Regions from separate parts of the Homo sapiens genome. Here region 2 is linked to region 1. Evidence: promoter capture Hi-C in 16 types of primary human blood cells and fetal thymus (Javierre and others, 2016). All regions are on one chromosome and are shown on one strand. Each heading gives the region's core, a stretch centred on a gene start or on the middle of the fragment in contact. The rest is flanking DNA. Distances are from core to core; before and after follow the strand shown. Region 1 holds the start of SCGB2B2 (secretoglobin family 2B member 2). Region 2 overlaps SPACA6 (sperm acrosome associated 6).

The links. Contacts are between HindIII fragments. The CHiCAGO score rates a contact against its expected background, and 5 or more counts as called.
Region 2: a fragment that was not itself captured here is called in contact with the fragment with the promoter of SCGB2B2 in region 1 in 1 of 17 cell types (fetal thymus); the score reaches 7.0 in fetal thymus.

Annotation. Positions count from the first base shown.
Region 1 is chr19:34,675,909-34,680,310 of GRCh38, forward strand. SCGB2B2 (secretoglobin family 2B member 2) reads right to left here and starts at 1,251. Exons shown (of 4, transcript NM_001025591.4): 1 at 1-1,251. ZNF302 (zinc finger protein 302) reads left to right here and starts at 1,770. Exons shown (of 5, transcript NM_001289187.2): 1 at 1,770-2,195; 2 at 2,829-2,905. The coding sequence starts at 2,897. It also overlaps the pseudogene ZNF807P and the pseudogene SCGB1B2P. RefSeq lists enhancers at 742-1,639, 1,299-1,398, 1,449-1,508, 1,640-2,536, 3,394-3,895 and a silencer at 1,959-2,018. The HindIII fragment of the contact is 5,389 bases long and covers 1-3,677 here.
Region 2 is chr19:51,698,785-51,703,186 of GRCh38, forward strand. SPACA6 (sperm acrosome associated 6) reads left to right here. Exons shown (of 9, transcript NM_001316972.2): 3 at 2,874-2,942; 4 at 3,845-3,868; 5 at 4,237-4,314. Among named protein-coding and RNA genes, the nearest start is that of SPACA6-AS1, 7.5 kb to the left of the region's middle. The HindIII fragment of the contact is 3,108 bases long and covers 620-3,727 here.

The DNA.
Region 1 (4,402 bases), core at 1-2,500:
GTCTCGCTGGCTTCAAGAGTGAAGCTGCAGACCTTCAGGGTGAGTGTTGCAGCTCATAAAGGTAGTGCAGACCCAAAGAGCAAAAGAACAAACATCCCACACCTGGGAAGTAGACCCCAGCGCGGTTGCCGCTGGTTGTTCGGGTGGCCCGTTTTTATTCCCTTATTTGGCCCCGCCCACATCCTGCTGATTTGTCCATTTTACAGAGCGCTGATTGGTCTATTTTACAGAGTGCTGTTTGGTCCGTTTTTACAGAGTGCTGACTGGTGCATTTACAAACCTTTAGCTAGACACAGAGCACTGATTGGTGTATTTACAATCCTTCAGCTATACAGAAAAGTTCTCCAAGGCCCCACCTGATCCAGAAGCCCAGCTGGCTTCACCTCTCGGTTATATGCTAATTATATGCATTAGCACGCTAAGAGAAACGCTCATCAGTGCCATGGCAATTTACAAATGCCATGGTAAGGTTCAGAAGTTACCCTGTATGGTTCAAAAAGCTGGGAAGCCCTCAGCTCCGAGAAATTGAAATTGCCCACCTCTTTCCTGGAAAACTCATGAATAATCCACCCTTGTTTAGCACATCATCAAGCAATAAATACAAGTATCCCTAGTCCAGCAGCCCAAGCTGCTGCTCTAACAATGGAGTACCCATTGTTTCTTTACTTTCTTAATACACTTGCTTTGGCTTTGCACTGTGCTCTCCCATGGATTTTTTCTTGCGTGAGCTCTAAGAACTCTCTCTTGGGGTCGGATCCGGACCCCTTTCTGGTAACAGAAGCACTGCTTCACGAAGATCATGCAGGTCAGTACTTAATAAGTACAAAAAAGTCTATAGCGACACTATTTATAATTTTAAAAATGATTGAAGTCAATTAACATTTAAGTGTTAAAAAGAAAGTAAACAACCCAAATATACACAAACAGTAGACTGCTCTGGCTTGCATACAGAGAGGTCCATTGCCCTTTTGGGTGGGCCTAAGAAGCACTTCTGGGGAGAGGGGGCGTCAGGCTGTGATGGCTGCGGGAGGAGTGACTCCTCCCAGGATGAGGGTCTCCATCCTCCCAGTGCTCACTCAAGTTCAGTATTTCCAAGTCCTTCCAGGGGCGTAACGCACGTCAGAACGGCCATTAGTGTCACAGATACGTGTCCCCTTGCATTTCCAGGAAATGCCCTTGGTTGGCGAACTACAGTCGTGACAGTCGGGCCACAGGGCGTTTTGTGAGTTATCGTCTTGGGCAAATGAGTGCCAAAAAAAAAAAAAAAAAAAGACCTGAAGGTGAACAGCATAGCGGCAGGGTTTGGGATGAGAGGAGCCCCTTTGCTAGCAACGGCGAGCACTTGCGCGGTACCAGCAAGGGCTGCCCATGTCTCGGAGGGAAACGTTTGTGTGAGCGCAGGAATGACCCGGAAGACCTTGGCACGGCTGCAGTTTTCTGGGAAATGTAATTTCTTGGTCCGGGCGCCATGGCCCTTATAAGTAGAGGGTGTCCCTTGGTTTCGAGTTGTATCGTTCACCAGAGGACGACTGTGTGCCCCAGGACAATTTGCGCATGGTCCTAGCTGGCCGGCTCTAGGTCGACGGCCCCAGGCGGTTAAGCTACTTACAAAGCCGTGACCGGTTTGCCCGCGGCGCACCAGGTCCGCGCAGCCGCAGAGACCCTTGGGAAGTGTGGTCTTCGGGTGCCGGCGGTTCGCGGCTTCCGGGACATTTGTACCGCAGGGGGAGGATTCTGGGAAATGTGGTTCGCCGTGGGCGGTGCACTGGGTCAGTCCCGCGATAGCTTCAGGCCTGGCGGCGGCTTCCAAGCTAAGGAACGGTTTGGGGCAGTGTCGTTCCCGGAGGTCGGCCGCCGTTACCCGCTCACCAGCTACGCGGCGCGTCAGGTCCGCGGAGGCGCGGGCTCGGGGCGCCTGCGGGACGGTGAGGCCCTGCTGAGGACTCCGGCAAGTGTGGGTCGCGGCGACGGCGGGGCTAAGGCCCTGGGTCCGCGCGCGGTTTGACCACGGCCGGGGCCTTGGGCATTTCCTGGCCTTCCTGTTGAGCCGTGTAAACGCGGGGTGATGACGGCGCCGACCTCTTGGCACTGTTGTGAGAGCGAAGTGGGCGCGAGAGCAGACGCCAGCTACAGTTTTTTTTGGGTTATGTCGTCATGAAGCCGGCGCTTTCAGTTGTGCAACCTTGAACAAATGGGTTCAGTATCTCGGAATTTCAGTTTTGTCTTCATTTTAAAAAATAAATCTGGTTTAGAACTCGACCTCAAGCGATCCGCCCGCCTCCGCCTTCCGAAGTGCTGGGATTAAAGGCGTAAGCCACCGCACCAGCCTAACGAACATGGCGAAACGCCGTCTCTACTAAAAATACAAAAAAAAATTAGCTGGGCGTGGTGGCACGTGTCTATAATCCCAGCTATTCGAGAGGTTGAGGTAGGAGAATCGCTTCAACCCGGGAGGCAGAGGTTGCAGTGAGTCGAGGTCGCTCCATTGCACTCCAGCCTGGAGACAGAACGAGACTCCGTCTCAAAAAAAAAAAAAAAAAAATCTGGAATAATATGAATGCACACCTTGCAAAGTGGTGAAGACTGAACGAGCTGATAAAGTTGTTACCGTTGTTTTATGAGTCTTTTGTATACAGAATAATTGATTTTCCCCGCAGGTGGCACCTGGTAAATAGCCCTTGCGGAGAAACACCCTGTTCCTTCCCAGGGAGAGATTGACGCTCCGGCGAGTGATTACCAGTGTGCTTTTCCATTAAGGTGTGTGACAGGTGCCGCAAGATAAGCCCGATTTTTCATGACTGCTTTTTCCTGCCTTTCTGTGCCCTCAGGACACTGCCCATCTCTAAGATAAGAACCTGGAAAGGGGACTCTGTTGGCCATTGGAAATTGCAGAATAATGTCTCAGGTAAGTCGGTGTGTCCCCAAATCTTCCTGAAACACTTTATTAGGCCTCTGTGTGTTTGCTTTGCTTCTCCTGCCTGTTCCCACCTAATCAAGTCCATTTAAGGGACTAGATCTATGGTTCCTTTCACTATAGGAAGAATGGAGCCCACAGGAGAGCTCCAAGGTATTGTCCTCATCACCCAGTGTTCCTCTTTTCTACAGTTTTCTGCTAGAAGACTTTCTAGATTGCCAACATTTTAAAACTGTAATTCACAATGCAACTTTGGAATGTAAGGTTATTCGGTTTATGGTTGTCAAAACTGTACCATGTGGTCTCAAGTGAAGAGATGTTTGGAGTCATCCTTGATTCTTCCTTTTGACTTATAACTCATATTCAGGTCCTCTAGTTTGGATCTAAACGATACACCGTATACAGCATCTGACCATTAGTTAGCCCATCACCACCACCACCACTACCACCCCAGTCCGAGCCACCTGGATTATTGCGGTAGCCTCCTAGCTGGATTCCCAGCATCTGCCCTTAACCCTCATCAGTCTGTTCTCAGTACAGCTGTGACCATGGTCCTATTGTTATATAAATTCCTGTCATTCCGCAACCTAAAATTTTTCAGTGGTTCTAACTGAGTCACTTCTGCAATGACCTATTTGTACAATTAGGCCATTACCTCCCTGATCCCACCTTCCTTCTCTGCCTCCTCATTCCTGTGCGCTCCAGCCTCTGTCACCAGTTGCTGTGCCATCCACGTGGAATATTCTTCCCCCACATACGCACAAGCTTGCATCCTTATCTCCTTCTGTGTTTGTTCCGTGGTTACTTTCTCAGAACAGCTTCCCTGAAAGCCTATTTGCAATTGCAGTCACCTTCCCTAGCGCTTCCACTCCTCCATCACTGCTTTGTTGTTTTCCACAGTGTGTGTCACTCACTAGCTGATGTACTGTATGTTCAGTATATGCACGTGCTCATTGTCTGTTCCTGGTGGGAGGAATGCTTTTTCTTCTTTGTTGACTGTTATAGCGTCAGTACCCAGAGTGTTACCTGGCACCAAATGGATGCTTAGTAAGTAATTGTGGAGTGAATAAGATGAGTAATGAAGAACTGGTGGGGCAGAATCATGGCATGGAAGGTGAAGCTTGCACAGGAGGGGATGTAAGTAGCAGATGTACATCTTGGGTGAAGTCTGTTTTCATGGAATAATTAAGATAATTAGAATTGAAAAACTGGTGTGGTAGTGCATGCCTGTTGTCCCAGTTACTCGGGAGGCTGATGAGGTAGGAAGATTTCTTGAGCCCTCTGGTGTAAGCCTGTAGTGAGCTATGATTATGTCACTGCACTCCAGCTTGGTGACAGAGCAAGAACCTGCCTCTTGAAAGAAAAAACAAAGTAAAGGCTAAAGTGAACTAATGCCAAAACCATTCATTGGTTCATCTTCTAAACACTTATGAAGTACCTGTTAGGAAGAGTTGTACATGGATTTTGGTGTACACTGACACACAGGAC
Region 2 (4,402 bases), core at 924-3,423, about 17 Mb after region 1:
CCGTAGGAAGTTTAGCTCTCCTATATAAAGTAAGTCTTGTGGTAGGCACTTAAGGCTAATATGGCACCTCCATTTCTTGGGGATCCAAGCTCCTTCAAGACTTAATATCCCAGGGAGTAGCCCTTGTCCTCATGGTCCCGTGTGGCTGCTAGAGCTCCAACCATCAAAACAAATTTTCAGGCAGCAGGATGGATGAGGGGAACAATAAGATGGCACCACCTTCTCTGTCTTTGTTTTTTAGAGACAGGGTCTTGCTCTATTGCCCAGGCTGGGTGGAGGGCAGTGGTGCAATCATAGCTCACTACAGCCTTGAACTCCTGGGCTCAACCATCCTCCCACTTCAGCTTCCTGAGTAGCTAAGACTACAAGCACACCATCACACCTGGCTAATTTATAAAAATTTGTTTAGAGATGGTGTCTGGATATGTTGCCCAGGCTTGTCTCGAACTCCTGGCCTCAAGTGATCCTGTCACCTCAGCCTCCCGAGTAGCTGTGATTCCAGGTGCGGTACCACCTCCCTTTTAAGGCCACCTCCTGTGACTCACATAACACATCCATTTGCATCCTATGGCTACAACTTGGTCACATGACCACAACTGCAAGGAAGGCTGGGAGATGAAGCTTTTTATCTGTGTTCTGTGGATATAGGTTATAGATATATAGGTATTTGGAGGCAGTGAACAATTCCTGTGTGTTGGTTTGCTAGGACCACTGTAACAAAGTACCGTAGACTGGGTGACTCGAACAACAGAAGTTTCTGCCTTCTAGAAGTCTGAGACCAAGGTTTTGGTGTCAGCAGGGTTAGTTTCTTCTCACGCCTCTCTCTTTGGCTTGTAGATGCCTTCCTTCATATGTCCCTGTGTGCATCTCTGTGTCCTAATTTCCTCTTCTCATAAGGACACCAATCATACTGCATTACAGCCCACCCTAATGACCTCATTTTAACTTAATCACCTCTTTAAGAACCAAGTACAGTCACATTCTGAGGTACTGGGAGTTAGGACTTCAACATACAAGTTTGGTTGCGGGGGATGGGGGGTGGGCGGCACGATTTAGCCGATAAAACCCTGCCACATTACTGATTTCCACAAATCACCACGAGATCAAGTCAGCTGTCTATTCTTATTCCACTGGAACAAGCCACAAACCCATACAATTTGGAGGCCATTGCAGTGGTCAAAACACAAGGCCAGGCATGGTGGCCCACACCTGTAATCCCAGCACTTTGGGAGGCCGAGGCAGGCGGATCACCTGAGGTTAGGAGTTTGAGACCAGCCTGGCCAACATGGTGAAACCCCATCTCTACTAAAAATATAAAAATTCGCCGAGCATGGTGGTGGGTGCCTGTAATCCTAGCTACTGGGGAGGCTGAGGCAGGAGAATCACTTGAACCTGGGAGGTGGAAGTTGCAGTGAGCCAAGATCACACCACTGTACGCCAGCCTGGGCAACAGAGCGAGACTCTATCTCAAAACAAAACAAACACCTACAAAGACAAGGAACATAAAAGAGTAAAAGATGGGTAAATATAGAAGTGAATAGAGGCTGGGGACTATGGAGAAGTGGCCGGTGTGTGCCCCATTTCAAGGGAGTGACTGCTACCCATCTCCAGCTAATTGCTGCCTTATGGAAATGCGATCTCTGTGTTACAGCTCTTCCAACTTTGTAAAAAAGAGATGCCAAACGTTTTATTTGACATTCCAAATTTTATATGTTGGCAACTGGTTCATTTTCTTTTAAACACTTTCCAGGCCAAATATAACACATCCCAGGGATGGATTTGGGTCATAGGCCACCAGCTGGGGTCTCCAGTTCAAGTTGGATCCTGGAATTCATTGTACAAATACTTACTGAGCACTTCTAAGACTGAGGGCCCTCTCCAGGATCCAGAGGACACAGTGCTACAGAAGAACATGTTTATTTACTTACGAGACAGACATAAGTGATCATCATCTATATATAAATATATGTAATTGCAGACAGATGAGAGCTAGGAATGAAATGATTGCGATGAGAGACAAAAACAGGGAACTTGGTTAGATTTGTGGTGATGGAAGGATGATTAGGAGAAGGAAAAATGTGCTAAAAACAAGCCAGCATGTGCAAAGGCCCTGAGGTGCTAGGGAATGTGGTGGTTTTCATATTAAAGGAAATGAGGCCAGGCACGGTGGCTCATGCCTGTAACCCCAGCACTTTGGGAGGCTGAGGTGGGTGGATCACTTGAGGTCAGGAGTTCGAGACCAGCCTGGCCAACATGGTGAAACCCCATCTCTACTAAAAACACAAAAATTAGCCAGGCGTGGTGGTGCACACCTGCAGTCCCTGCTACTCGGGAGGCTAGGGCAGGAGAATCACTTGAACCCAGGAGGCGGAGGTTGCGGTGAGCCGAGATCGCACCACTGCACTCCAGCCTGGGTGACAGTGAGACACTGTCTGAATAAAATAAAATAAAGGAAATGAAAGGTGGGCAGTAGGGATGGGACAGGGAGGGAGGGGGAACTAGGCCAAACCATGTAAGACCTAATAGGCCTTGGTGAGGAATTTGATCTTTATCCTCCCCTTCTCCCCCCAACAAGCTACATGCAGGTGATGTCCAGGAGGACTTCCATCCTGGAGAGATTCAGGAGGCAGAAGAAAGGAGACTTAGGGACTTGTTAGCCTTCAACTACAGAGGGCGGGTGATGAGAAGAGGAGCAGAGAATATGGTAATGAGAGGGGTGAAGAGGGGCCAGGGAAGGGCAGATACCATGACAGTACGTCCTGTGAGCTAGGGCCAGCCTAGCCCTAGCCAGGCTAGATCAGAATGCAGGACCAAGGACCAAGCCCTGGGGGAAGGGCTTTACTACACAGGCCGTCCTCCCCTCCACTCTCCAGGATCCTTTGAGGTTGCCTTCCCTGATGCTGCGGAGAAAATGAAGAAGGTCATTACACAGCTTAAAGAAGGTAAAATACACTCCATCTCTCCTTCCCCAGACACACACACACACAATTAGAAAACCCCACTTTTGGCCGGGGATGGTGGCTCACGCCTGTAATCCCAGCACTTTGGAAGGCTGAGGCGGGCAGATCACTTGAGATCAGGAGTTCAAAAGCAGTCTGACCAACATGGTGATACCCATATCTACTAAAGATACTAAAATTAGCTGGGCGTGGTAACGCATGCTTGTAATCTCATCTACTCAGGAGGCTGAGGCAGGAAAATTGCTTGAACCCTGGAGGCGGGGTTGCAGTGACCCGAGATCGGCACTCCAGCCTGGGTGACAGAGCAAGACTCCATCTCAAAACGAAACCCACTCCTGAGACCCCCCATCCACTCCCCGTACAATCCCCTGGCCCCATCTCTGAGCCTCAGACCTTGAGGGACGACTATTTCCCCGCGTGGACCATTTTTGATCTGGCCCCGCCCCTTCGATGAAAGGTTTCGTCTCCAACTGAGCCCCTTTCCGGGACTACTACTAACCTGGCCACGCCTCTTCTCTAACTGGGCCACCACCTTAGCCTTGGTCTCCTGCAAGGATCGCCCAGGATCTAGCCCCGCCTCCTCGGTGGAATACACCTGGATTGCCCATCCCCATCAGGGCCTACAGAAAACCAGTGTGTTTCCCTCTAAACCCCAAGTAGAAGGCTGGCAGCAGTCCTGGGCCTGACCTCCTAGTGGAATGCTCAGGCTTGGCCCCGGCCCCAGGTGGAACCCAGCCGGCTTGACCCCGCCCCCAGGTTATGACGAAAGCTTGGCCCCGCCCCCTCGGAGCAATGCTTCGGGCCTTGTAACATTAGCTAGGGGAGCATCGGGCAAGGGTTCTTCCCATGACTGTAAGGTAGTGATGTTTCCTCTTCCTCCACAGCCCAGGCTTGCATCCCTCCCTGCGGTAAGGACTTCATCTAAAACTTGGAAATTGCGGGGTAAGGGAGGCGGTCGGGGACGAAACGTACGACATCAAGTGTGGGAAAGCGGGTGGGCTTCACATCCTTAGGAAGCCAATAAGATCCCTGGAGAAAAGGAAGAAAACCAAGTATTGCTCTAAATCCTCAGAAGGTGTGTGTGAGAGCCGAAGCAAACCAATAGGAATCCTAGAGGGCGGAGAGGAGTGAGAGTCGGCCAAAGACAGCAGGGAGGGCGGGGTCAAGATGCCACCTGGCCGATGGACCCCGGGAAGCTGCATGGATCTCAAATGGGCCAAGGGCCCCGGGCTTGGAAGGGCAGGTGGCGCCTAGACCCAGCGTTCCCGCTCCACAGGTCTCCAGGAGTTCGCCCGGCGTTTCCTCTGCAGCGGGTGCTACTCTAGGGTCTGCGACCTCCCGCTGGACTGCCCAGGTGAGGGGGCGGGGCCTCGGGGTGCAGGAGGCCAACCTGAGAAAAGGGACCAGAGCACCGAGGGGCATAAGCTGGTGGCGAGGCCAGA